2 separate regions of the Homo sapiens genome follow, and region 1 is linked to region 2. The links are contacts of gene promoters, found by promoter capture Hi-C in blood cells and fetal thymus (Javierre and others, 2016). All regions are on one chromosome and are shown on one strand. Each heading gives the region's core, a stretch centred on a gene start or on the middle of the fragment in contact. The rest is flanking DNA. Distances are from core to core; before and after follow the strand shown.

What was found. Contacts are between HindIII fragments. The CHiCAGO score rates a contact against its expected background, and 5 or more counts as called.
Region 1: a fragment that was not itself captured here is called in contact with the fragment with the promoter of WDR53 in region 2 in 2 of 17 cell types (M1 macrophages and M2 macrophages); the score reaches 5.8 in M1 macrophages.

What each region holds. Positions count from the first base shown.
Region 1 is chr3:196,787,845-196,791,343 of GRCh38, reverse strand. The region is part of intron 2 of PAK2 (p21 (RAC1) activated kinase 2); the gene reads right to left. Among named protein-coding and RNA genes, the nearest start is that of PAK2, 50 kb to the right of the region's middle. The HindIII fragment of the contact is 1,540 bases long and covers 582-2,121 here.
Region 2 is chr3:196,566,320-196,569,988 of GRCh38, reverse strand. It overlaps WDR53 (WD repeat domain 53), which reads left to right and starts at 1,435. Exons shown (of 4, transcript NM_182627.3): 1 at 1,435-1,470; 2 at 2,682-3,112. It overlaps FBXO45 (F-box protein 45), which reads right to left and starts at 1,329. Exons shown (of 3, transcript NM_001105573.2): 1 at 687-1,329. The coding sequence starts at 1,004. RefSeq lists enhancers at 1-76, 2,094-3,293 and silencers at 417-711, 833-1,372. The HindIII fragment of the contact is 1,918 bases long and covers 600-2,517 here.

The sequences.
Region 1 (3,499 bases), core at 102-2,601, 220 kb before region 2:
CCTAAAAATCTGTTCAATGCCATTTGTTTTTACATAACACACATACAGGTACTCTCTGTATTTTAATAGTCTCAATGGGAAAAGGAAAGGATATTAGAAACAGTGTCTAAAACAAAAAGATACTAAAGCATGTCTGGAATTGAACAATGTGCTGGAAAGATATTGCTATACCAACAGAATGTCTTTAATACTCTTATATAACGACTCTAGAAGCCCAGAAATAGAGGGCCAATCACAATAAATTTATGTAGATGTGGGGGTTCAGTCAGGATGGCAGAAGAAATTATAGGAATAGAAAAAAGCAAACCTGCTTGGAAGGCCGGGGAGTTTTGCATAGCTTCAAAGTTTGGCTGAAGGTAGCCAGATTCTCTTTTCAGGAGCCAGAGAGCTTAAGGTACAGATACAAAGGAATATAAAGTAGTTTATCTAAAGAGCTTGTTTACTCATGTGGTCCTAAGACTAACCTTTGATCATTGGTGGGCAAGATGGCCCTCTCCAGGGTGGGGGCGACCAGGTGAATTACCCACAGGTGTGTTGACTCAAGCCTTTGTCAATTAATCTATACTAAATAAATGCAAGCTTCCTTGGCTAGTTGAGGCCGATGGTTGCAACGCTTTACAGCACTCTCCTGGGAGTCTGTAAGTGGCCCGGACTCTCAGCTGGACTGACAAGCATAACATCTGTGTCAGTGTAAGTTATTCATCCGTCATTGGGTCAGGGTCTGCGGGACGGACCCCTACATGTTACACCTTAGCTTTGGAGAAATCTGAAATCTGTTCATGTTTCATAAAATGAAAGGAGGTCAACTTCCCACTTCTGCTTATCAAACACAACCATCTACGGGAGGTTCACCAGGCAACCAGATCACTTGATGGGAAGTAATAGACCAGGGCAAAAAACTTATTTTAATAAAATAAACAATTTAACTAGTGTCCTAGGAGAAAAAAAGATTCTTAGAATCATTTTCCAACTTCATTAGACAACAAAACAGCAGCAGCAGGCAGGCAGCAACCTTCAGCCAAGAGGCAGAGACCCTGAGTCACATGTTGACAAAAGGTACTGAAAAGAATCCTAAGTAGGCTACTGTCACATTCTCTAGGGCACTACCTTTTAGACTGCTTTCAAGCTACATCTAAGGCTAAACAAACAAATAAAAGAAACCCTTTATCTGTTTAAAAGGAAGACTCTTCTGTTTCTAGTCTAACCATAAGTAATTCCTCCTTTGTTCTTTTGATGTGTAATAGCTTCAAATTCCATGACACAGCAGAGAATTCTCTAGGAAAGGTGTCCCCAGCCCCAGGGCCGTGGACCAGTACAGGTCCATGGCCGGTTAGGAACTGGGTGGCACAGCAGGAGGTGAGCAGTGGGGAGTGAGCACCACCGCCTGAGCGCCACCTCCTGTCAGATCAGTGGCAGCATTAGATCCCCATAGGAGCGCAAACCCTATTGTGAACTGCGCATGAGAGGGATCTAGGCTGCACACTCCTTATGAGAATCTAACTAATGTCTGATGATCTGAGGTGGAAGAGTTTCATACCGAAACCACCCCCCCGTCAGCCCCACAGAAAAATTGTTTTCCGGCCAGGCACGGTGGCTCACGCCTGTAATCCCGGCACTTTGGGAGGCTGAGGTGAGCAGATCACCTGAGGTCAGGAGTTCGAGACCAGCCTGGTCAACATGGTGAAACCCTGTCTCTACTAAAAATACAAAAAAATTAGCTGGGCGTGGTGGCGTGCACCTCTAGTCCCAGCTACTCGGGAGGCTGAGGCAGGGGAATTGCTTGTACCCAGGAGGCGGAGGTTGCAGTGAGCTGAGACCACGCCATTGCATTCCAGCCTGGGCAACAAGATGAAACAAAAAAGAAAAAAGAAAAATTGTTTTCCATGAAACCATTACCCCAGTGTCAAAAAGGTTGGGGACCACTCCTCTAGGAAATAGGCAGAGAAGTATGGGTTACTATTATTAATCTCAGAATTCATTTTTTTAATCAGAAAGGTTGTTTACAGATCTAAGTCATAACCAACCAGAAGTGAAGGTGCTTATAGGTTGAATAGCTAGATGTGAAAATTGCTTTAGTTAATAAAGACAATACCATCCAACTCTAGCTGTATGAATAAAGCTTATTTTAAAAAGTCAAATGGCTCACTGACATTTTCATTATTTAAACTAGTAGACTAGTTAGGCCATTTCTCACTTGGGCTACAGCAAAAGCCTCCTAACTAGTTTCCAACTTCACTCTCACACTTCGAACAAAACCTTTTTTCTATATACCTACCATTCTCTCCTAACTAAAACAGAGAGATGGCCAGGTCTTTCCCCTGATTAAAAATCTGTAATGGTTCCCCAGGAAACAGGATAAAATGTGAGCTCTGTAGCATAGAATACAAGGCCCTTTATGACCTGGTCACTGCCTACCTCTTCAGCCTCTTCTGCTGTCTGTAGTGCCTACATACACCCTGCTGTAATTCTCTGTCCTTCCCTCTCTGCTTTCCAGTAACACCGGGCGGCACTCAGCTCCATGGATGTGCTCTGATCCCTCCTGTAGGTGGGCCACTGAAACAGGCTCTTCCCGGGCATGGAACACACTTTGTAACTATCGTTTCCCTTACCCATCCTGCAGTCTTCAGCTCTATTATGACCTCCTTAGGAAGCCTTCCCAGACACTGCAGATTGGACACATGTTGTGCACTGCCTCTGTACCACTTTTCATGGCTTGTAATTCTATACCATGGTTTGAGATTGCTGTCGTGGGAGCAGGGACACTATCTGCTTTATCACTCATCTCTGATTATTCACATAGTACACACATTAGCAAGCATGGAAAAAAGATCTGTTCTGTCAAGTTGCCTTAAAACGGCACGATCCAAAAGGATAATTTTCGAGTTTTTTGGTGATACCAATTAAAACCAGTAATTAATAAGTGAAAACATCCTAGAGTCTTTATTTTCTTTTTATAAAAATATTAGCTGTTTTTTTAGTAAGGAAAGCAGTAAGGGATGTAAATTTTTTAGTGGAATAAAATGAATTATCTCTAGATCAGGCCTTACATTAGAGATGGCAAAAGTCTTAAGGTCATTATGATTTTTAAAAAATGGAAATACAATTGTTTGCCTTTTAGACTCTTCTGTTTCAAGATGATGTACTGAGCACATACTGAAGTTCTCTCCCTTCTACACCAAAACCGAGTGTTTCACAGAATAAAATCCACGAGGAATGCTCCAGAATGAAAAGCAATTAGCATAAGACTAGCGAGAGAAGCAGCAGTTAGGATGTCAGTGGGAAAATGCTTCTGCAAACTGCTGCAGGTGGCTGAAACTAGAAGCAAGGTGGGTGGAAATGAGCGGACCCAGAGGCAACCACTAGGGTGATGAACGGGATAATCCAGTGAGAGCAACAGAGCAGGTTATTTCTATGTTTACAAAAGCACGGATGTGTAAACACACACAAGGTTCTCCCTCATTCCTAATGCCGAAAGCTGGGCCCCAGTGACTGGGCTGTG
Region 2 (3,669 bases), core at 186-2,685:
AAATAGAAAAAGAGAGACACCATCAATGTGGAACTATTAAAAAGTTAGCAAGGAAACAGCCAATAACAGCAGGACAAAGCAGTATGTTAGGTGGTGCCCGTGGACGTTCTATAAAAGCCTGTATCTTGTAAGTGAGCAGGATGACTAGAACTACACTCACTTGTAAGCCTCCAATATAGTGGAGGGAACTAAAGAGAACTTGGGGGAAAATAATGAAAACAAATGGTTAAAAATCAGAGCTTGGAAAAGATGAGATAAACGTGGAGTGAAAGCAAACTAGAAACTTAGAAACTTAGAAACTAAGCCCATGTTAAGGTGGCCGGGATTATTTAATATAATGAAGTCTATCTGGAGGCCGGGGAGAAAAGTAGGATGAGGGCATTAAAAGGTACAAGAGTGGTGGTCTGTCTTTAACGGGGAAAACTGTCAAAAGTTGAATGAGTGAGGCAAACTACCTAGTTGTTTGAAAAGTGGATCACGGAAGTGGGATGGGTTAAGGAGCAGAACTTCGATCCAAAGAAAAGAGAATCTTTATCTTGGGGGGAGGTGAGGAAGATACTGACTGGAGCCGTGGAAAGGCGGGCTGGTGAGGCGAAGCTTCTGACTCAGAAGCTCGGATGAGAAACACCGCGAACGACGCCGGGGAGCGGGACTGGGGGCAGCGGTGTGGCCCGGGGCTCTCTCACCTTGGCCTTGTAGCTGGGCAGGTTGCACAGGATGTCCGTGCGCAGAGCCTCTTCTGCCAGGCTGCGGGCGCACAGGCTCCGCCACACCTCGCTGTTCTCATCGCCGTGCAGGCAGCGGTACCAGTGCTTGCACACCAGGGCGCAGCTCCGCAGCTCGGACAGCTCCAGGTAAGAGAACACCAACTCCAGCACCCGGCTGGGCAGCCGGCCCCCGGCCCCCGCGGCCCCAGAGCCCGAGCCCGCGCCCGCGCCCGCGCCGCCGCCGCTACAGCCAGCGCCGCCCGAGGCTGCCCCAGCCCCCGGGGCCGGCGCCGCCATCGCCTCACCAGCCGGCCCTAGGGCCGCCGCTGCCGCCGCCGCTTCCCGCCGTCTCTGCTCGGAAGGCCAAGCCTCGCCCGGAGACCGGAGCGGCTCGCTCACCGCCCCTGTCAGTGCCAACCGCCGGCGCCTCCACCACTCCCGCCCCTGCCCGGGGGCGTCCGCCGCGCGCCCCGCCTCACTGAGGGCAGACGCACCGGCTGCAGGGGCGTCCTCCGCCCCTCCTCCGCGGCTCAGCGCGGGCGCCGAAACCGCCCGACTCGCCCGGCCTCTCCGCGGCGCGCCAGCGGCTCCGCCATGCGGGTTGAGGGCACGAAGCAAGGGCGCACGCCCAGCTCGTTCGCGGTTCCTCTCGGCCCCGGATGTGACTGTTTGGCTGCGCCGCCTCACGCCTGACGCTCGACGGGATTGGGCGCCGGCGGGTGAGGTTATCACTAGGCGCCGAGGAGGGGAGCGGGAAGCGCAGGTATGAGGCTGGCGCCGGTGGCTTCGATGCTGCTTTCCGGTGACTTCGATGCTGTTTTCCAGTGCTTTTTCCTTTTTCTGGTCTGGTGGCTCCGCGTCTGCTCTCCTGGGCTCCCTTTCCTGTGACGTTTCCCTGTGTCCGTTAGGTCCTTGCTTCAGACTCCAGCTCAACGCATGAAACTTTTCTCTCCTTGCTTGCCGGGTCCTGGCTCCCCAACCTTTTTGTGTAGCTTGGGCAGCGGAGGCCGTCTTTACCTGGTCAGGCCCTCTCGTTCTCCCTAAGTATCGGCACTTAGCGAACGTCTGTCCCTGTGTGCCTTCGCAAAGTAAGGTGGCTGCGACTGAACACCCCCTCGCCCAAACGTTCGAGTGCCATTTGAGCGCTAATTAAGTGCTGCCGTCTTTTGGACAAGATGTGGTCTTTACTGGATCCACCGCTTAGTAAGCAGATGAAGGCAATGTAGTTTTAGTCAATTAAACATTCCAATAGGGAGAATGACGTGGAGGCTATAATTATAGATGGATTCTTGGAAGGGGAAGAATTTCAGCATCCCAGCTTGGGCAACATTGCGAGGCAGTGTCGCTACAAAAAAATAGAAAAATTAGCCGAGGGTGGTGGCGTGCGCCTCTGGTCCCAGCTACTTGGGAGGCTGAGCCCGGGAGGTCGAGGCTGAGGTGAACCGTAATCGCCCTGCTGTGCTCCAGCCTGGGCGACAGAGTGAGCCCCTACCTCACACACACACACACACACACACACACACACACACAAGAATTTCAGCATTATTTGATTATACTACGATTTCCTAGGTGGCCCCAAAGTTTTCCGACAGCCTTTAAAGCATGCTTAGTAAGAGAATAATAATAACCATCATTTGAGCCACGGTGTGAACCAGGCACTGTATACTACGTCATTTACGCAGATTTTTATATACGTAATCCTCAAAACAACTCCATGAGCTGAGTAATTAAAATAATAGGGTTCACAGACTCCCTTGGTCAACTCCAATGTCTTGGAACCTTTATGTAGTAAGAAATCTTTTCTGAAGCTTCTTGCTATGTATAATCCATTTCTTAGTCTCTAGTAAAAGCAAAGGAACGGTGGCTACCTTCCCTACCCTCTGATTCATGGTGTTTGATTATTATTTGCCTGTCCCTTCTCCTCATGTCTTTTTCACCAAGTCCAGTAACCCTAATTCTTTTCATTCTTACCAGTGCCAGCGCCACAGCCCTTCAATCATTTTGGTTGCTATCCAGCTTCTCCACATCAAGTCCAACTTCAGAAACCCCAAGCCTGTAGAGAAAAGTTGACCTGTGCTGACTCTGGTGATGGTGACTGTCTCTCACTAATTTCTTTGAAGTCTTCAAGGATAAGCAGAGTTGATCCATCTGAGAAAGGGATCATGAACTAGACAGAATGAACAGCCTTAGAGGCACAGACTCTTGAACGGGACGGTGGTGGTATGACTAGTGCAGAGTGTTTAGAGATCACTCAGTTTTTAAAGACTGGCCTTTATCGTGTCTCAGTGCAGCCGAGGCAGAGCCTTTGAAGGATGCGATGTTGTCATTCTTACTAATCTAGTCCAGCCGCTGAGGTGACTTTCAACGGCAGACCGTCTCCTGAGCGCCCCAGGTAGAATTTCAAAGTAAGATTACCCTTCTCAACCCCTCCTTTTCTTTTTTACAAATCTTTCACCTGCTCATCACCCACCCCACCAAGCCCCTTCCCCATGTTCAGTACTCTCATTCTGCGCTCTGGCTGATGAGAACTGCCGGCTGTGGCACTTCACCCTTTTAAAAAATGCTCTCGGCCGGGTGCCGTGGCTCACGCCTGGAATCCCAGCACTTTGGGAGGCCGAAGCGGGCGGATCACCTGCAGTCAGGAGTTTGAGACCAGCCTGGCCAACATGGTGAAACCCCATCTCTACCAAACATACAAAAATTAACCGGGCGTGGTGGTGCATGCCTGTAGTTCCAGCTACTCAGGAGGCTGAGGCACAAGAATCGCTTGAACCTGGGAGACGGAGGTTGCAGTGAGCCGAGATTGCACCATTGCACTCCAGCCTGGGCGACGAGAGCGAAACTCTGTCTCAAAAAAAAAAAAAAGAAAAAAATGCTCTCAAAATAACTCACCTGGCAGGGCACAGTGGCTCATGCCTGTAATCCCAGCACTTTGGGAGGCCGAGGTGGGTGGATTGCTTGA